7 separate regions of the Homo sapiens genome follow, and regions 1, 2, 3, 4, 5 and 6 are each linked to region 7. The links are contacts of gene promoters, found by promoter capture Hi-C in blood cells and fetal thymus (Javierre and others, 2016). All regions are on one chromosome and are shown on one strand. The core of a region is centred on a gene start or on the middle of the fragment in contact, and the rest is flanking DNA. Distances in the headings are between cores, read along the strand shown. Region 1 overlaps SEC23A (SEC23 homolog A, COPII component). Region 2 overlaps TRAPPC6B (trafficking protein particle complex subunit 6B). Region 3 overlaps GEMIN2 (gem nuclear organelle associated protein 2). Region 4 overlaps SEC23A (SEC23 homolog A, COPII component). Region 5 has its middle 9.4 kb from the start of PNN-AS1. Region 6 overlaps SEC23A (SEC23 homolog A, COPII component). Region 7 holds the start of DORIP1 (dopamine receptor interacting protein 1).

What was found. Contacts are between HindIII fragments. The CHiCAGO score rates a contact against its expected background, and 5 or more counts as called.
Region 1: a fragment that was not itself captured here is called in contact with the fragment with the promoter of DORIP1 in region 7 in 3 of 17 cell types (total CD4 T cells, activated CD4 T cells and naive CD4 T cells); the score reaches 9.1 in total CD4 T cells.
Region 2: a fragment that was not itself captured here is called in contact with the fragment with the promoter of DORIP1 in region 7 in 12 of 17 cell types (non-activated CD4 T cells, total CD8 T cells, activated CD4 T cells and 9 more); the score reaches 27.6 in non-activated CD4 T cells.
Region 3: a contact is called between a fragment that was not itself captured here and the fragment with the promoter of DORIP1 in region 7, in 13 of 17 cell types (total CD4 T cells, naive B cells, naive CD4 T cells and 10 more). The highest score is 38.6, in total CD4 T cells.
Region 4: a contact is called between a fragment that was not itself captured here and the fragment with the promoter of DORIP1 in region 7, in 5 of 17 cell types (total CD4 T cells, naive CD8 T cells, activated CD4 T cells and 2 more). The highest score is 17.9, in total CD4 T cells.
Region 5: a contact is called between a fragment that was not itself captured here and the fragment with the promoter of DORIP1 in region 7, in 12 of 17 cell types (total CD4 T cells, non-activated CD4 T cells, naive CD8 T cells and 9 more). The highest score is 19.9, in total CD4 T cells.
Region 6: a fragment that was not itself captured here is called in contact with the fragment with the promoter of DORIP1 in region 7 in 9 of 17 cell types (total CD4 T cells, naive CD8 T cells, total CD8 T cells and 6 more); the score reaches 20.9 in total CD4 T cells.

What each region holds. Positions count from the first base shown.
Region 1 is chr14:39,035,802-39,038,501 of GRCh38, reverse strand. The region is part of intron 19 of SEC23A (SEC23 homolog A, COPII component); the gene reads left to right. Among named protein-coding and RNA genes, the nearest start is that of SEC23A-AS1, 66 kb to the left of the region's middle. The HindIII fragment of the contact is 4,681 bases long and covers 1-2,700 here.
Region 2 is chr14:39,159,962-39,162,661 of GRCh38, reverse strand. All of the region lies in intron 1 of TRAPPC6B (trafficking protein particle complex subunit 6B), which reads left to right. Among named protein-coding and RNA genes, the nearest start is that of TRAPPC6B, 9.0 kb to the left of the region's middle. The HindIII fragment of the contact is 1,992 bases long and covers 423-2,414 here.
Region 3 is chr14:39,120,958-39,123,657 of GRCh38, reverse strand. GEMIN2 (gem nuclear organelle associated protein 2) reads right to left here. Exons shown (of 10, transcript NM_003616.3): 5 at 1,115-1,228. Among named protein-coding and RNA genes, the nearest start is that of GEMIN2, 8.0 kb to the right of the region's middle. The HindIII fragment of the contact is 5,325 bases long and covers 1-2,700 here.
Region 4 is chr14:39,059,470-39,062,369 of GRCh38, reverse strand. SEC23A (SEC23 homolog A, COPII component) reads left to right here. Exons shown (of 20, transcript NM_006364.4): 13 at 499-605. Among named protein-coding and RNA genes, the nearest start is that of SEC23A-AS1, 42 kb to the left of the region's middle. The HindIII fragment of the contact is 9,282 bases long and covers 1-2,900 here.
Region 5 is chr14:39,183,790-39,186,679 of GRCh38, reverse strand. No RefSeq gene overlaps it. Among named protein-coding and RNA genes, the nearest start is that of PNN-AS1, 9.4 kb to the right of the region's middle. The HindIII fragment of the contact is 9,645 bases long and covers 1-2,890 here.
Region 6 is chr14:39,079,925-39,082,735 of GRCh38, reverse strand. All of the region lies in intron 7 of SEC23A (SEC23 homolog A, COPII component), which reads left to right. Among named protein-coding and RNA genes, the nearest start is that of SEC23A-AS1, 22 kb to the left of the region's middle. The HindIII fragment of the contact is 258 bases long and covers 1,183-1,440 here.
Region 7 is chr14:44,895,980-44,898,868 of GRCh38, reverse strand. DORIP1 (dopamine receptor interacting protein 1) reads right to left here and starts at 1,594. Exons shown (of 5, transcript NM_001017923.2): 1 at 1,301-1,594. RefSeq lists silencers at 940-1,259, 1,280-1,409 and enhancers at 776-1,275, 1,900-1,949. The HindIII fragment of the contact is 3,873 bases long and covers 1-1,935 here.

The DNA of each region.
Region 1 (2,700 bases), core at 101-2,600, 5.9 Mb after region 7:
GTATAACATATCAACATTTATTGAGTGTCCAGTATGTTTAGGACTTTGTATTGGCTCTTTAGGGTGCAGTTATTACCCATGCCTTTGGAGAGCTTGTAGTCTAATATTAGAGATAAAATACATACCTAAGTAAATTACAAGGCAGAATGGGATATTTGTCCTTAGAAAGCTATGAAGTATTACAAAGGTTAGAAGAGGAAGATGGCAAGAGGTCACATAGTGGTAGCAGGAAGAGGGTGTGTAATCAGAAAAGAGCTCAGAAAAAAGAAACATTTCATTTAAAGAATGGTTATTTCAGTAATTGGAAATTGCATGAGGAAGGGAAATCTAGGTAGAGAATAGTATGGGCTAAGATAAAAGACTACATGCAGAGCTGACTAGAAGAACATAAAACGGAAATGTGTTGTACAAGTAAATTGTGGAGGATCTTGAATGTCAGGTTGAGGAGTGAGAAGTTGAGTATTTATTTGGTAAGTAATGGAGAGTCATTGAAGGTGGACAGAGGGCAGATTTGAGTCTTAGTATAGTTGAATCTTAAGATTAAATGGAAGCAGTCTGTAGGTTGAAAGTATATTTACGAAAATAATCCAAGTGAGAGGGAGTAAAGGCAAGATGGTGAAAGGAATAGATTTGGGAGATATTTTAAAAGTAGACTCAATAGGACTTGATTAGAAGTTGCAGGAAAGTAATTATTCCAGGGCATGGCAACTATGCACAAAATCTGAATTCTGATTGAATCCTGGATTAAAGGGAGAGAATAGCTATAAAGAACATAATTGGGATAATTTGTGAGATTTGAATATAGATCATATATCAGATAACTAGTACAGAATTATTAAATTTCTTGAGAGTGATAATGGTGTGGTTATGTAGGAGATTCTTCTTGATCTTAGGAGATACATCCTGAAGTATTTAGGAATAAAATGTCATGATGGCTTCAACTTCCAGAAGTTATTCAACAAAAAGAAGAAAAAAGGAAAAATAATGTAGAAACATAAAGCATACGTGGCAAAATGTTAACAGTCAGTGAATGTAGGTATGCTATATGGGTGTTTATTGTACTTCTCTCTCAACTTTAATGTAGTCTTGAATTTTTAAAAAACAGGTGAGGGGAAACAGGGTATTTTGGGGTTTTAAGCCTGAGTGACTAGGAAAACATATGTCAATAAATGGGAGAGTGGAGAGAAATTGTTTGGTTTAGACACTGAGTTTGAGGTACTATCTAGAAGGCCTTATTGAGCCACAATAAGATGACCATATTGATTATGGCCATGTTGAGTGGGCTGTTGGCAATTTGGGTTTGATGGTCAGGGCAAGAATGAGAAAGGTGATAAAGTCATCACAGTAAATGCTTGTCTGAAGAGAGAGTAAAGAGGTAAAGGAGAGATGAGACAAAAACTTCAGGGGAGTACAAGTGGTAGGAGTGTTTAGTGAATTATCAGAGAGGCAGAATGAAAAGAATAGTATGTCATAAAAGGTGACTTTATAGAAGGAAGAAGAAGGAGGTAACAAACTGACATGCCGCAGACAGTTGAAGAGGGATACAGAGTGAGAAAAGGTGCTTGGATTTGATGGCTAGGAGGTTATTCGTGGCATTGTGTAAGCGGCTTTAGTATGGTGGTTGAGTAAGAAGATAAATTTATAAGGAATTAGTGGGTGAGAAAGAAGCGGAGGTCGAAAGTATAAATGATTCTTTTGCAAATTTAACCTGAGGATAAGCAGTAGGATAGGCAGATGATTGTTATTACGGTAAGGGCACAGAACTTATTTGGAGACCAAGCATAGGAAAGACACAAAAGAACAGATATTTAAGATCCTCAGGAGACAATATGATCATAAGCAGTATATGGACGTTAAGCATTGGTAAGGAGGCAGGGCACTTATTTCTGCAAAAGCAAAAGGTAAGAAGGGTGAAGACAGAAAGGTTTTTAGGTGGAGTGAAAACTCACATTGGATAATTGCCTGTTTCTTTTCAATAATATGAGATTATTTAGGAGTGAAAAAGGCTGGAGTTAGGGGCCAAAAAAACTAGAAAAGATTAAAAACAGTTCTAAAGAATACAAAAATCAACTGAAGATTAATAAAACGCTTTTGCAGCAGTGGTGAGGGCCTATTTTATTTACTAAAAATATCTAGAGCATGCTTCCATAATGTTCTTTTTTTTTTTTTTTTTTTTTTTTTGAGACGGAGTCTTGCTCTGTTGCCAGGCTGGAGTGTAGTGACGCGATCTCGACTCGCTGCAACCTCTGCCTCCTGGGTTCAAGCGATTCTCCTGCCTCAGCCTCCTGAGTAGCTGGGACTACAGGCACACACCACCATACTCAGCTAATTTTTTTGGTATTTTTAGTAGAGATGGAGTTTCACCATGTTGGCCAGGATGGTCTCGATCTTCTGATCTCGTGATCTGCCCACCTCTGCCTCCCAAAGTGCTGGGATTACAGGTGTGAGCCACTGTGCCTGGGAGTATCCATGAATAGATTTTAATTGTTTCATGAGGGCGGAACCCTTATGACCCAGTCACCTCTTAAAGGCCCCACCTTTATACTGCCACATTGGGGATTTTCAAAATGAGTTTTGGAAGGGACAGATATTCAAACCATAGCACCGTCCTACAATTGCATGATTGAATTTGTGTAATATCCCTGTCCTGTCATCCCTTTTCCCGCCTCCATTTTTTATGGCATTGCTCCTGTTAGATTA
Region 2 (2,700 bases), core at 169-2,668, 5.7 Mb after region 7:
ACATTTTGAAGCAAGGAACAATAGAACTTAGAGCAGAAAGCAAATGACTCAGGGAAAAACATCAAAGGTGATACCAGGTTTTATAACCTAGGAGAGAAGAATGATTGAAATTGGGATAAAAGGGAGACGAGGAGTAATTAGGAAGAGGATTTGATTTCTGAAAATCAATTATAAGCAGTAGTTCCCTGTTTATCCTGTTGCCTTGTGCCAGGTGCAGTGGCTCACACCTGTAGTCCCACAGCTTTGGGAGGCCAAGCCAGGAGGATATCTTGAGGTCAGGACTTTGAGACCAGCCTGGGTAACAGAGTGAGATCCCATCTCTTAAAAAAAAAAAAAATAGCCAGGCATGGTGATGTGCCTGTAGTCCTAGCTACTTGGGAGACTGAGGTGGGAGGATTGCTTGAACCCAGGAATTTAAAGCTTCAATGAACCATGATCTCGCCAGTGCACTGCAGCCTGGGCGACAGAGCAAGACTTGTCAAATAAATAAGTAAATAGCAGTTTGGTCTTTTGTTGGAGGAACGTCTATTCTTAGCTTGGACACTGCGGTTTTTCCTTGGGCAGCAGAAGCAATGTGGCGATTGAAGAAGTGACCTAAAACTTTGATGTTAGGTAGAAGCAGATGGCCCAAGCCAAGACAAGTGCTTGTAAATCCACTGGTGGGAGCCCCTCCTCCTAACAGCAGGTTATTAACGCTGCCAGAAAAAAAGTGTCCCCTCTACCGGTCTGGTGAAGAAACCTCATCGCTACGGGCCTGGGACTGTGGCACTTCTAGAGATTCTCGTTACCAGAAATTGACCTAGCTTCTCATCTGGAAGCTGCCTTTCTAGAGGTTGGTGAGAGAGATCACCCAGGATTTCAAAACCAACTTTAGGTTTCAGAGCACAGTCATTGGGGTGCTGCAGGAGGCTAGTGAAGTGTACCTGGAGGCTAGTGAAGTGTACCTGGTGGGTTGGTTTGAAGATGCTAATTTGTGTGCCATCTACGGTAAGAGAGTTGGCTCTCATGCCCAAAGACATCCAGTTGGCTCGCCAGACACGGAGTGAGCGAGCTTAAGTGAAGGCAGATTTTAAGGCATTTTATATGAATTCTGTAAAATACTTTGGTTTAATTTGTGACTTTTTGGGGAGAAATTATTTATAATATGTTGCATTTGTGCTTAAGTCATTCCGTCTTTTGGGATGAATGTGAAAAGTGACTGTTCATAGACCTCAGTGACGTAAGCACTGTTGCTCAGGAGTGACAAGTTGCTAATACGCAGAAGGGATGGGTGACATTTTTTCATTCTCATGACGCATGTTTCTGTAAGTTAATGACTTGTTAGGTAGCTATTAAGGAACTAGAGTTGATAAATAAATGTGTATAGGTTCCTTTTGCAATATAACTGGTTATTACTTGATCCAAGTGTTTAACATTTGGAGCTAAGTCTGACCATACATTACTGTGATAGAATGTGGGCCTTTTCAAGGGTGAAGATACAAGCCTTAACCACAGTATAACTTGCAGTTTCCTTAAACAAACAAAGAAATAAAAACCTAGCATGGAGTACATTATGTGCATTTATAATAGCTATTTTAAATATTGTAGTGTCAACATTCAAAAATTAATTCTTTTACATTCGCAAATGGTGGGGAGTCTTGTCATTAAGGTGTGTATAACTTAGAATCCACTTGGTTTTCTCCTAACTGGACTGCATTTGTTTTCATAGTAGTAAAATGTTATGTGTATTACACCTTGCATAAGTCCTCATTCTACTACGTGTTAACTAACCCTCTAGATGATAATGCAGATGCTAACTGTGGGATTTTATTTATAAGAACTCTAGAATAAATACCAGTTATTCCTACCAACATCGGCTGTTACTAATATTCTGAAGTAGTTAGTGCAACTTTTCATTGTGTTGTGGTTGGTCTCCTAAGTAGGTTGGATTTTTCTCCTCTTCTAAGAGAAAACAATAGTGAAATTATTTTCTTTCTCTTTTCTCTCTGTTTCTGTCTCTTTCTCTCTCTCTTTCTCCCTTCCCTTCCCTTCCCTCCCCTCCCCTCCCCTCTTCTTTTCTTTTCTTTCTCTTCTCTTCTCTTTTCTTTCTTTCATGGGGTCCCTTGCTCAACCTGTTGCCCAGGCTGGAGTGCAATGACATGATCATGGCTCAGTGCAGCCTCAACTTCCTGGACTCAAGCAATCCACCTGCATCAGCCTCCAAAATGGCACATGCTACCATGCCCAGCTATTTTATTTTTACTTTTAGTACAGATGTGGTCTTGCTATGTTGCCCAGGCTGGTCTTGAGCCATTGAGCTCAAGTGATCCTCCTGCTTTGGCCTCCTAAAGTGCTGGGATTACAGGCATGAGCCACCGTGTCTTGAGGGGTTTGTTTCTATTAAAAGACTTGGTGTCAGGGAGGAGCACAAAGCTTTAACCCATTGAACCTCTGACAGTTAAGATGGTGTTGGGTTAGGTTACATCTGGTTACTATCCTGGGAAAATCACTTCTATAGAGATGGCCTTCCAAGTGGTTTTAAAATGTATCTTTCTGTCTGGGCGCGGTGGCTCACGCCTGTAATCCCTGCACTTTGGGAGGCCAAGGCAGGTGGATTGCTTGAGGTCAGGAGTTTGAGACCAGCATGGCCAACATTTTGTATTTTTGTATTTTCTCTACTAAAAATACAAAAATTAACCAGGCATGGTGGTGGGTGCTTAT
Region 3 (2,700 bases), core at 127-2,626, 5.8 Mb after region 7:
GATATCATCCAAAAGATCAATTGGTTATATAGAAAGAGTACCAAATTAACTTCCCTAAGATTTGAGTCTATTTATACTCCTGTACCACGTCTAAGAGTGCTTGTTTCCCCAGCTCTTGTCAATATGGTGTATCAAACTTTCTTGGCCAATATGTTACCTGAAAAATAGCACCTTGGCATAGTTATGTTATACTTCTATTACAAGTGATTTTTGGCATCTTGTCATATAAGAATAATTTTATTTCCTTTCTGTGAGGTATCTATATCCTTTGGCTATTTTTTCTTGGGCAGGGGAGGGGTGATTCTTGGTCTTTTTATTGATTCTTGGGGCTTTTTACATTTTTAGGAAAAATTAGTTTTAAATGTGAAAAACACAATGTGGCACCATATAGCAAATAATAAATACCTGTTGAACTGAAAAGAACTACATGCTATAGGGAGTAAGCGCTAATGCAGAGGCATGCACTGGATTCTCAAGGAACACCTGCAAACTTGGGGGCAGGTAAATCCTGAAGGACAAGGAGTTGTCTACATAACTTATGATTACAGCCACATGAATTTTAAAGATATCCTCAACATTTCATCTTTAGAATATGTGATTTATTTTTTACAGGCCCATGAAGTGATAGATGTGATTATGCATTTTAAAGCATCTAATTGTGTCGATTTCCATTTTTTCCCTGGCTACTCATAACACTGTTTGCCTGATGCCTCATCATTTAAAAAAACTATGAATCTTATCCAACTCATAAAATGATTACCAAGCCAAACATAAGGGATATGAAGCCAAACTAAAAAAAGTCACAGTAAATTGTTTCAGAAACTAAGCTGTTTTGTTAGGTTGAAGAGCTAATAAACTAAGTCTGGGTTGGCAAACATTTTCTATCAAGAGTCAGACAGCAAATATTTTAGGCTTTGCAGGCCACATAAAGTCTCAGCCACATATTATTTGTTTCTTTTTTACTCTTTCAAAACCTAAAAACAATCCTTAGCTCATGGATATAAAAAAGGCCATGAACTGGACTTGGCCCAGGGTAGAGTTTGCTGACCCCTTATATTAAGTGGTGCACCAAAATTAAAATGCTTTTTGTTCTGTTTATCCACACAGCCCTTACTTGTACATAATCTATTCCAGGACTTTCATTTGTGGCTGGTCCAACAGCCCCGTCAGCACATAACTTTTCACCCAGACAAAATTTCTTCCAGCCTTCTTCATCTTCAGATTTTGGCTAAAAGAAAAAAAAAAAAACTGATTTATTCCTGTGTATTAATTTTTACACTGAACAGTAAAAAAAAAGAAGTTAAGTCCTTCCATATTCCCATTACCGCAACCCAAAGATACGGAGCCAGTTATGGGGAGAATCTCTGCCCCCAAATTTGTATGTTAAAACCTTAAACTCCAGTACCTCAGAATGTGACTGTATTTGGAGACAGGGCCTTTAAAGAAGTGATTAATTTAAATTGAGGCCATTAGGGTGAGCCGTAATCCAATCTTACTAGTGTCCTTATAAGAGGAAATTTGGATTCACAAAGAGACACCAGGGACTCCCACACACAGAGGAAAGACCACGTGAGAAAACAGGGAGAAGGTGGCCCTATGCAAGCCAAGGAGAAAAGCCTCAGAAGAGACCAACCTTAGGCCGGGTGCGGTGGTTCACGCCTGTAATCCCAGCACTTTGGGAGGCCGAGGCAGGCGATCACATGAAGTCAGGAGTTCAAGACCAGCCTGGCCAACATGGCAAAACCCCACCTCTACTAAAAATACAAAAAAAAAAAAAATTAGCCGGATGTGGTGGTGCACACCTGTAATCCCAGCTACCCAGAGGCTGAGGCAGGAGAATCACTCGAGCCTGGGAGGCGGAGGCTGCAGTGAGCAGAGATTGCGTCATTGCACTCTAGCCTGGGCAACAAGAGCGAAACTCTGCCTCAAAAAACAAACAAACAAACAAAAAGAGACCAACCTTGCTGCCACCTTGTTCTTTGACTTTCAGCCTTCAAGACTGAGAAAATAAATACATTTCTGTTGTTTAATCCACCTAGTCTGTTATGGCAGCCCTGACAAACATAGTGCCTAAGTGGCTACACAATATGTGGGACATGTTGTTTTTCCTTATTATTACATTTTTTGAGACAGGGTCTTGCTCTGTCGCCCAAGTTGGAGTGCAGAGGTGTGATTACAGTTCATTGCAGCCTGAATCTCGGGCTCAAATAATTCTGCCACCTCAGCCTCTTGAGTAGCTGGGACTACAGGCATGTGCCACCATGCCTGATAATTTTTAAATTTTTTTTGTAGAGATAGTTGTCTCACTATGTTGCCCAGGCTGGTCTCAAACTCCTGGCCTCAAGCAATTCTTCTGCTTTGGCTTCCCAAAGTGCTGGGATTACAAGTGTGAGCCACTGTGCCCAGCCAAGATGTGTTTAGTTTGGACAAGACTTTAGTGGACACTGACAGACAATGGTGTGTCCAAAAGAGGATGATAAAGACAGAAATAAGTATGGGGGAAAAAATGCACCAAGAACACTTAATAGAATGAAGGATATTTATCCCATGTAAAGAGACATGATTACATATTTCACATATTTGAAGGGTTGTCCAGTCAAAGAAGAAACAGATCTACTCATGCTGCCAGACAGAAAAAGCAGGACGCAGGACTATTTGGGAGAAGCATTCAGCTCAATATAACCTCCTTAACAAAATAAC
Region 4 (2,900 bases), core at 336-2,835, 5.8 Mb after region 7:
ACACTCAAAGAAAATGCTCATTGGAGAGCATTTTGGATTTTGGATTTTTGGATTTGGGGATCTTCAATTGGTATAAGGCAAATATTCCTGAGTTTAAAAAAATACAAAATCCAAAACATTTCGGGTCCCAAGCATTTTGGATAAGGGATATTCAATCTGTGCAGTTTGGCTTAAATGGCTTCACTTAGGAATTGTCTTTTAATTTCTTTGTGCTCTCCCTTTTCTTTGTTCTTTCATGTCCCTCTGGCTTATATATTACTTGAAAATTGATTTCCTAGCAGGACTGACTTCTATCATTCTTGATTATTTTCCTCCTCTCCAAATTAATTTCTCCTCTTCTGTGTAACAAATTATAACTGTTTTGAATGCACTGGAAATAAGTATCCTTCTAATCAATTTTAGAATGAATTATTTTTAGTGCTAGGACATGTAGCCTGTGATTATATGACAACAGCATAGTAAATTTTGCTTAGGTTTTACTCCATTATATTTATACAGCATAATGCTCCAATTCCTCAAGGAGGGCGTGGTGCAATCCAGTTTGTGACTCAGTATCAGCATTCAAGTGGGCAGAGACGCATCCGAGTGACCACCATTGCTAGGAAGTAAGTTGTATTTGTTAGAGATTTGATTTTCATATCACAGGTATCTGGGTTGTGTTTCCAAACTGGATTCCTATTTTGGGTGACATCCATGACTAGCAAGTGAATATTTGTGACTAATAGTATTTTATTTATTTCTTTCTAACCCAGCTTATTTGCTACAATATGCATTACTAAGAACCGTAAGAGCAATTTTAAAAAGTACTTCTAAGACACACCCTTCAAAATATTATTTTATTTACCTCATTCCTGTGAGAGGAGAAAAATCAGATATTTACCTATAATAGTCAATAATAATATATATAATCCATTATATATATAAATGATATAGCACAGTAATTAATCACATTACTTTTCAATTAGTGATAAAAATTCTTAGCTATTTTTTTTTCAAGTTTTATTAGTCATTTAATTCATTTATTATGCCATTACTCAGCTTCTGCTTTGTGGAGTAGGTTCTGTTTTAGGAGAGTATGAATGCGGAAGCCGTGAACGTACTTAGCCTCCTGCTGTATGACAGTGTGGTATAGAGTCATCCTCACATTGTCTGTGGTAAAGGGCCAGTTGTGTTTTTTTTCCTAATCCTTCGGGTACAGATGCTTTTATTAAATACAATAAAAATGAATTACTAGAAAAATGAAATTTTAAAAAGTGATTTAAAACAAACTCCCTGTTTTATATTATTAGATTAATAAGATATAAGATTATTTTGTGAAGTTGCTCAGTTTCTAAATATTTATTCTCAGTTCCTCTTTTGACTTCATGGCACTGGTTCACATACCACACTTTGACTAGCACTTGTTGAGACCACAAAAGGTAAAGTCTCTATCTAACAGATTCAATTATAGGGTAGTATTTTGTGTAACATAGTCATGTTCTAATTTATTGATATAGGCAGGGTCCCCAGAAGGGAATAATAAGGCCCAACAGATACCTTTTCTTATTCCTATCTTTGTGATAGATTTTCCAAATAAGGCATGTATTTGTTCATGGGCTCTTTGCCCAGCATTTGCAGAGACAACAAATTTAACTGAATTTAGTACCTTTCTTTTTATTAAGAATTACGAATAAATTATTTCTCTGCTACTTTGGTATCTCTGTGTATTTGTGAAGTATAAAACAAAAGGAAAATAATTGTGGAATGAGTTTAGTTAGGAAGAGGTTTTTTAGATGAGGTGAATCTAGAAATGAACAGGCTTTGGTCTTTATTTCTGTTTGTCTTGAACTTGGTTGTCTGGATAGGAAAAGTGTTGATCAGTAAACTTACCCAGTTTAGTCATGGTCTCGACAATGGACAAGGAAGGCATTTGTAGCTCTCATTTTCATTAAGTGTACTTAAACTCTAGCTTCATTCCTGAAAATCTTAAGACTTTTGTTGAGTGATGGACATGAACACAACATTTGAACTGAGTATTAGCTGTATTGGGTGATCTATTACTTAGCACAGGGTTGTACATAGATTTAGTGTTCTGTTCTGTTACCTTGCTTTGACTTAACATCCTGGAACAATGTCAAGGGGATACATTATTCATTTGAAGAAAAAATGTCAGCTGAACCTTCCCTTAGATTTATTCAGATTTCAGATAAGGAACTTGGAAGTACTGATGCTTGGCAAACTTCTCAGTTTATTTATGGCTCTCAACGTGTGTGCACACACACACACATGTGTGTGCACACATTAAATTTGACATTCAGAACATTTGCTTAAGGAAACAACGACATACCAAATGAAGGACTTTTTACAACTTACAAAGTCACTGGTTTGTACTATTCAAAAATGTCTTGGAAGACAAAGAAAGTCTGAGCAACTGATCCAGATTAAAGGATACTAAAGAAACATTACCACTAATGCCAATGTGTGATCATGGACAAAATGCAAATGTCAGGGAAAAATTTTGCTTTAGAAGCCATTATTAGACAATTGGGGAAATATGAATATAGTCTCTTTCTATATGATAATGGCATTATATCAGTGTTAGATTTCATGAGTTTAATAATTGGAGCTATATAAGAAAATTTTTTGTTCTTAGGAGATATACACTGAAGTATTTCAGGCAGAAGGTCATAATATCTCCAACTTAATCTAGAAAAGTTCAGCAAAAAATGTGTATATAAATGGAGAGAGAGAATGATAATGCAGATGTGTTAAAATGCTAACAACTGATGAATCTAGGTGATGGTTATATAGGAGTTTATTCCACTCTTACTGTCTTTATGTTTGAAATATTTTTAAAATGAAAATTTTAAAAGGTTAGGTGACTCTTTCAAGAGACAGGGTGCTGTCTTATGAGAAATATT
Region 5 (2,890 bases), core at 197-2,696, 5.7 Mb after region 7:
CTCCTTTTCAGATCTACTATGTACAAGGAGCACTCTGGTCACCCTTTAGCTGCACAGCACACAAAATATTTACAAAAAATGTCACAGAAACTGTTGTTTCCATTATTTGGAAGAAAACGAGGACAAATTTCAGGATGTGACTTGGCTCATTGTTTCAAACATATTTGGATGTGCTGAAAGAGAGGAAAGAAAGTGGGAAAGAGAGACCAAGCCACTTAACACCAAGGATTTTTTTTTTTTTTGATGGAGTCTCGCTCTGTCCCCCAGGCTGGAGTGCAGTGGTGCCATCTCGGCTCACTGCAAGCTCCGCCTCCCGGGTTCATGCCATTCTCCTGCCTCAGCCTCCCGAGTAGCTGGGACTACAGGTGCCCACCACCACGCCTGGCTAAATTTTTTATATTTTCAGTAGAGACGGGGTTTTCACCATGTTAACCAGGATGGTCTTGATCTCCTGACCTCATGATCAGGGGCCCGCCTCAGCCTCCCAAAGTGCTGGGATTACAGGCATGAGCCACCGTGCCCGGCCAACACCAAAGATTTTGGGACAGTCATGGCAAGGAGTGGCAGCTATTACAAATTTGAATAGGGTAGTCAACTGGCCATGGAAAGTGGAGTTGCAGGCATTTGAGTATCATCATTTTTTTTAGTATAATTATTTAAGTTCCTTTTTTGAAAAGATTGGCTGGACATGGTAGCTCACACCTGTAATCTTAGCACTTAGGATGGCCAAAATGGGAGGATCGCTTAAGCTCAGGAATTCGAGACCAGCCTGGGCAACAGGGCAAGACTCTCATCTCTATTTAAAAAAAGAAAAAAAAAAAAAAGTCCTGCTAGCTGAGACAAAGACAGGCGTAAGAAAAACATTCTCAGATACCTCGTTTATTTTTACCAAGTTGTAGTCTCTACCCCACTGGCTTACTAGAGTAGTGGTATTGAATCAAATACATAGCTACATTTTCTGGGCTATGTGATTTAATAACATTCATTTTAACCTCAAAAAGGGAAAATGGGTTGGATTTGTCGTTGGATTTCAGAAGATATTTTAAAGTTTGACTAGTCATAAAAAAATTCTTACACAATATTAGCCATAAAAGAAATTCTTGTTTATGTACTTTAAACCCACATCTTGACTGACTCTAATAGCATTGGCCCATGTAATCACTACTCTCTTTCCTTTTGAATTTATGTCAATACATTATTGGTATGGTGGCTTTTGCTTTGCCCAAATTACCTGAGTAATCATGTAAATTGTTATCATTCTACAGATAGTGTGTAGAAGGACCCTAGATTGGAAATACAGCTCATTGAAGTTCAAACTATCTTTATTTTGGTGGTTACCCAAACCTTGGTATCTTAAAAGATGTTTCCTTAATAGCCCCTTAGACATCTCTGCCAATTTTTTTTTTAGACAGTCTGTCACCAGTATGGAGTGCAGTGGTGCCATCAAAGCTCACTATAACCTCAAACTCCTGGGTTCAAGCAATCCTCCCACCTCAGCCCCCGAAGTAACTAGAACTACAGGTACACACATGGCTAAATTTTTCTATTTTTTGTAGAGATAGATTCTTGCTGATGCCCAGGTCAGTCTTGAACTCCTGGCTTCAAGCCATCCATCCTCTACCCTCAGCCTCCCAAATTGCTGGGATTACAGGTGTGAGCCATAGCACCCAGCCTGTCTTTCCTAATACAGCTCTAAACTGATTTCAGTCCTAACTCACCATCTCTATCCCCTTTCAGCTCCTAAGTTTTCCATAAACACTATTTGGGTTTTTTTGTTATTTTTTAGACAGGGTCTCACTCTGTCACCCAGGCTGGAGTGCAGTAGTGTGATCATAGCTACTTCACCTCAACCTCCTGGGCTCAAGCAATCCTCCTGTCTCAGCCTCCAGAGTAGCTGGGACTCAGGCTCATGCCACCACAATCGGCTAGTTTTTCTCTTCGTAGACAGTTTTTTGCCATGTTGCCGAGGTTGGTCTCTGGCTCCTGGGCTCAAGCAATCTTTCCACCTCAGCCTCCCAAAGTGTTGGGAATTACAGGCCACTGCACTCAACCATAAACACTAATTTGTAATCTCCAGTAGGAAGACTACTGCGTGTTAGCCGGGCGCCGTGGCTCATGCCTGTAATCCCAGCACTTTGGGAGGCCAAGGCAGGCGGATCACGATGTCAGGAGTTCGAGACCAGTCTGGCCAACACAGTGAAACCCCCAACTCTACTAAAAATACAAAAAAAAAAAAAAAAAAAAAAATTAGCCAGGTGTGGTGGTGTGCGCCTGTAATCCCAGCTACTTGGAAGGCTGAGGCAGAATTGCATGAAGCTGGGAGGCGGAGGTTGCAGTGAGCCGAGATCGCACCACTGCACTCCAGCCTGGGTGACAGAACGAGACTCCATCTCAAAAAAAAAAAAAAAAAAAAAGACTACTGCATGTCTTTTCCCCCTGGGAAACTGTCATTACTTTTACATTCTTCTTCCTTGTGTCTCTTCAAGTGCAATTCCATGGTTCTCTGAACATTAAGTTCCATAAAATTTTAGTTCAAGGATAAAGCACTGATCGGAAACAAAAAAATCTAAAATACTATATTTAAAAAATTAAACCTTCCAACCTAAAAATGAATACCACTTAAAAATGTTAGTACAATCTGTTATTAAAATTCCTGTGCTCACTTCAGCAGCACATACTAAAATTGGAACACAGACCAAGAGTGGTGGCTCACGCCTGTAATCCCAGCACTTTCAGAGGCCAAGGCAGGAGTAACGCTTGAGCCCAGGAGTTCGAGACCAGCCTGGGCAACATAGTGAGATCCTGTCTCTACAAAAAATAAAAAATTAACTGGGAATGGTGGTGCACACCTGTAGTCCCAGGTACTTGGTAGGCTGAGGTGGGAGGATCC
Region 6 (2,811 bases), core at 62-2,561, 5.8 Mb after region 7:
GGTGGCACATGGTTTTCATTTGTTCTGTTACTGATGATATTCACTTTGGTCATTCATTAAGGTAGTATCTGCCAGGGCTCTCCACTTTAAAATTACTCTTTTTTTACCCCTTTGTAATTAATAAACATTGCAAAATATTAGGAACCCCCATGTTGATTTATTTCATTACTGCTGATGTTAACTTTCCTTACTTGGTTAAGGTTGTTTTTGTCACTGTAAAGTTACAGGTTTTCCTATTGTAATTATAAATATCTTATTAGGAGATACCTTGAAAATATGTGAATAACCAGTGTACTCAGCAAACTTTTACCCACTAGTTTAGCATCCATTGATGATTCTTTTCTGATCAATTATTATTATGATGCATGCCAAATAGTGGCTTTCTAATTCCATCATTTCTACTTTTATTAATTGGCTTTCTACTTGAGGAAGAGCTTTCTCTCCTCTCCCATTTACGTATTTATATATATATAAATTTATATACACATATATATATGTAAATACATACAGAATACACACTGGGTGTATTCTTACATTCTTATTTTATACAACAAGATACATTCCTTTACTATCATAATTTACTTTGATGCTTAAGTTTTCCCCGATTTGGCTAGTGGGAGCCTCTTCAAGCTGCTTCTGGGTCCTTATTAAATGCCGCATGTTTGCTTAAATACTTCCTTTCTGGTATAGTAAGTTGTTCAGGGCTCATCTTATCCTTTTCCTGCTCTGGACCTGAAATGAAACCACTTAGGAGCCCTGTTTCCTTTTAGCCTTGGTTCTACCAAGAAGATAATGCTTCATGTGCACCCTTACCCTGGGTGTCATTAATTCTAGGTCCCAGCGGATGGAGCTAAGAAGAAGATGTATGTGCATATATATGTATCTATAGATGTATATAAAATCATAAGTATATGTGTGTGCATATATGTCTGCATACTCCAATATGCATCTATATCTCTATTAAAATAAAAAAAATTTTATATTAAAAACCAATGTTTCTTTCAGGTATGTTCAATTCAGTACCACAGGGTTTATTCTATCCTTCCCACTTTTCCATATTTGTAACTCATTCTCTATGAGAAACCTGCTCCCGTTATCAAATATATTTACTTATTTGCTCAGTCCTAGAATATATAGAATAGTTTCAGAGTTTCTAGCTCATACCTCTGTTAGAAAGAAGCTTAGGAGTTAGAGCCCAGTATTTGTTTAATGTTCTGAGAATATATAGTACAAAATATAATGTTCAAAAGTTAAGTGGGTTATTCCCCTCCACTGCCCTTAGTGTGATTATGTTATTCTTTGCTGTAAGTTTTATTTGTATCTTCTAGTAAATTTCTTAAGAAGACTTAAGAGTACAGAATTTCTTGGGCTGTTGAATGTTTAAACTTTTTTCCTGTGGTTCTGATAGTTGAAGAATAGCTTGGTTGGATATAAAAAGCTTTGGTTCTAATTTTTTTTTCCTGGAGGTTTTGGAAAATGCTTTTTCATTATTTTCTTACCTTGATGTGTGTGTGTTTTTTTTTTTTTTTAAACAGAGCCTCTGTTGCTCAGGCTGGAGTGCAGTACGTGATCATAGCTTACTGCAGCACTGCAACCTCAAACTCCTGGTCTCAAGCAGTCCTCCAGCCTCAGACTCCTCCCAAGTAGCTGGGACTATAGGCCCATGCCACTATGCCCAGCTACTTTTTAAATTTGTAGAGACAGAGTCTTGCCATGTTGCCCAGACAGGTCTCAAACTCCTGGTCTCAAGTGATCCTACCACCTTGGCTGATGTTTTTTGAGAAGGCTGATACCAGCCTTATTTTCTTGCCCTTGTAAATTATTTGATCATTTTGCTTCAAGGTCTTGAGGAATTTTTTTTTTATCTTGTAGGGTTTTTGTTGCAGGTTAATTTTCTCTAGTATGTGGTAGGCCCTCTTTATATGTATTTTTTCCTATAAAGTTGTCTTATAGTATTTTTTCCTATAAAGTTGTCTTATAGCTTTAAATAGTAGTTTTGTTCCATTGTTTTATTTTATTTAAGAACTCCCGGCCAGGCGCAGTGGCTCATGCCTGTAATCCCAGCACTTTGGGAGGCCGAGGCAGGCGGATTACCTGAAGTCAGGAGTTCGAGACCAGCCTGGCCAACGTGGTGAAATCTCATCTCTACTAAAAATACAAAAATTAGCCGGGGGCGGTGGCACACGCCTGTAATCCCAGCTACTTGGGAGGCTGAGGCAGGAGAATTGCTTGAACCCGTGGACAGAGGTTGCAGTGAGCCGAGATCATGTCACTGCACTCCAGCCTGGCCGACAGAGCAAGACTCTGTCTCAAAAGAAAAAAACAACTGCCGTTATATATAAATTGACTCTTCTTTGCTTGCTTTTTATTTCAGCCATCTTTTTATTTCTTTATTTCATTTTCATTCTCTTGGTTTTTTTCTTTTCTTTAGTGCCTCTTACCAAGTTTTCATTTGAATCTGTAGTCGTTCTTCTAGGCCTGCTGTTTGTTTCCCTCTTCTCTCTTCTGTGTACTTCTTCCCAAACTGCCCTTGATCTTTTTGGAGAATTGCAATGAGAGCATGAGAGATACAGTTCACGGGGATTTAGTGGCTTTTTTTTCCCTCCAGTTGTAGGAAATTTGAAGTTTGGATGTTCTTTGTGTCATAGTTTTATGAAAGTATCTGTATATAGTTTTATTTGCTCTTTTCTTCATTTTTTCAGCTTTACATGACTGCTATTATCTCAAATACCCAGAATGAAGAGAGTATTTTTGTTATTAGTTAAGAAAGTTATAGAAGTAATAATCATACCTTGTGAAAACATTCAAACA
Region 7 (2,889 bases), core at 345-2,844:
ACGCGAGTAAAAATTCACTTCTGCAATATATTAAACACACATGAACACAGTGTTTTCAGTTTGAAGCAAGATACTGTGGACTCTAAAATATCCAGTAACTATATTTAGTATGAAGAGTGGATGTTTATATCTAGTTGGCCAACACATTGATTCTAGTCATCCACTTAGGAAGAAGAGGGTGTGGCAAATCTGCAGCCTAGGAAAACACAAACTCAGTTTCTTCGTAATAGATACTGATTCGTTTTGTTTACAAAGATTTTAAAAAACAGTTATGCATTCAAATACTTTAAAAACGAAAATAACTTTATGGTTTGATTTATTTCCGTTGAATTTTAAAGAACTTTGTAGCAAGGTTTAAGATTGCTTAAAGAGCCTGAGTTCGGATTCCTAAAATAGTGCATTGGGAAGGAAGCATAAATCTCTAGGATATTTTCTTCACATTATCTTCAGACATGACCAAATGAAGTGTAACTACCCTTACACTCTAAGAGAATTAAACTATAATGACATATGTGGCATGAAACTTTAGTCTTTCTCTGGAAAAAACGGGAGGAGGGAAGGTTTGGAAGAACTAGAGGATACTAGTTTCATCATGAATTTGGTGATTTGTTCCAAAGTAAATTGCAATAAAAATGAGGGGTGGGGAAAAATGATGGAAAGATAGCTGTGAAGAGCTTTACTTAAAATTGTCTTAGCTGTTTAGCTAGGAACTGTAATTAGAAGGACTGGAGGATGTATTCCGCTGGCTTTATTCTCCAGGCTCTACGGGCCCTCCAATTTGAATAAACCTGGAAAACTCTCCTGACCTCTATTTCTTTGACAAAACATCTTTCTTTCGTGGTGACTTCCAAGGGAGGAAATTGGTACCCCAAGCTAGCCGTGAGGACCCCACCACATGCCCAAGGCATTGAACGCCAGACTCCCTAAGGACTCAGGGATTCTAAAAGTCCCCTCTCAAATCAGCGCCTAAAATACGCCTGTACAGCCACGCGCTACCGCTCCCAGCAGCGCGGGACTTCGGGACAGGGACAAGGCGGACGCTAGGCGTGCGCCCCCGGGGAGCCCCCACGTTCCGGCCACGCCCACCCTGGCCCTGGGCAGCCGCGCCCGGGAGGCCTGGCACCGAGGCGGGCGGGTCCCCGAGTTAGGGGCCCGCGAGTCGGCTGGGCGCCCCCGCCTCTGCCCGGGCAGTGCCCCGCCGAGTGCTCAGAACTGCGGACAAATAGGCTGGAGGGCCGGGCCGCGGAAGGCGTTCCCACACCGGCCAGTCTCCGTCCACCAGGAAGCAAACTCCTCGTACCTCCCTGGGGACCGAAAACTGCCGGTGCCGCCGCACCCGTCGCCGCCGCCGCCTGCTCATGGAGAGCCCGGGCTGCCGCCGCCGCCGCCGCCGCCGCTGCCTCATCTATGAGTACCGCCGGCTGTCTCGGCCTCCCCCGGCGTGAGTTCTGGGCTCTGGCATGGCCTCCATGGCAGCCGCCGCGGCGGGAGCCACAGCAGCTCCAGCGCCCAGGCCCAATCTCACTGGACCCACGGAGCCAGGACAGTGGGACACGTCGCTTCTTATTACGGAGGAAGATTCGGCACGACCTCCGCCCCCCTCCCCCCAACCCCCCCGTTTTCAGCCGCCTGACAGCGCAGCTGCGCAGGCGCGAAGACGCCCCAGCCTAATGTGCGTGTGTCGGCTGTGTATACAGCATCCAGATTCGCCCAATGGGAACCAGGATCAGGTGTGGGGGGCGGGACCTCGCAGAGAGGGGCGGGGTTCCACTGGTAGAAGGTGGGTGGGGAAGCCGGAAGTGGGCAGAGTTTGCACGGAGGCGGAGCTTTATTGGCAAACCTGATTGGCTTTTTGAGGTTTGTACCATTTTAGGACTTGATTTTAGTTTGCTTCTGGGTCTTGTTTTCTCAAATTCTTAACCTAGAAAGAAAGCTTTGTTTTCTCAGTAAATTACGGTTTTTTAAGCGTTTAAGTATTTACTTAGAAAACAGTTGAATTGATCTGTTAAATGCCAGCTTTAGTGTTCAAGTTAATTATTGGCCAATATACTGTAACTTACAGTGGAAGTTAACCCCATTTTGAAAAATTAGATTGTTTTAATTCCATTGTGAAGTTGAAAAAATTGGGTTTTGGAGATAATAAGGTCCCACACAGCAAGTGACGGAGCTGGAAATTACAGTTAGGACAACTTAATGCTAGTTTGTGGGCTCAACCACTATTTCTGTTTATTAGGGCCGAGTTTTTGTATCTCCCGTAAAGAAGCAAGGCCCTGTATGGCTCTGCATCTGGAGAACACAGGCCACCCTGCAAAAACTACCTCTCCTTGCAAGTAGGCATGGAGATCTGGTTGAGATTTTCCCCATCCAGCCTTTCAACAAATAATGAGGGTCTGGAAAGTTAGCTCTAACGTTCAGAACACGTGAGGGCTAATGAGAGAGCTCAAGGCTATCCTAGTAAATCAGTGTGGTTTTCCGTCACAGGCTGAGCCTGGGAGAGGCTGGATGCCTTCTTGACCGGTGTGATGGTCGGCCAAAGCTATGGAGGGGAACTTCCTCATGGATCTCTCTAAAAAAGTCTAGAAATGGAAGAGAGACTTCCATTTCTTGAGTTTTGGCTCTGCCCAAAAAAGAATAATTAATAGCTCTGGCAAAGCCTGCTCTTTTTAGTTTCCTGTTTTTTCTTATTTCTTATGGTATTTTATAGATGAGGAAACTGAGGCTCTTAGAGATAAACTAGTGTGTTGGAAAACTTGCAAAAAGTTCACTCTCAATATTAATCCTCTCCTACAGGTAGAAAAGCCCTTTAAAAATGTTTGTAAATGTGGATTATGTGTTTAATTATAAATCTCTCACAAGACATGGAGTTCATTTTATACTGATTAGGTCATT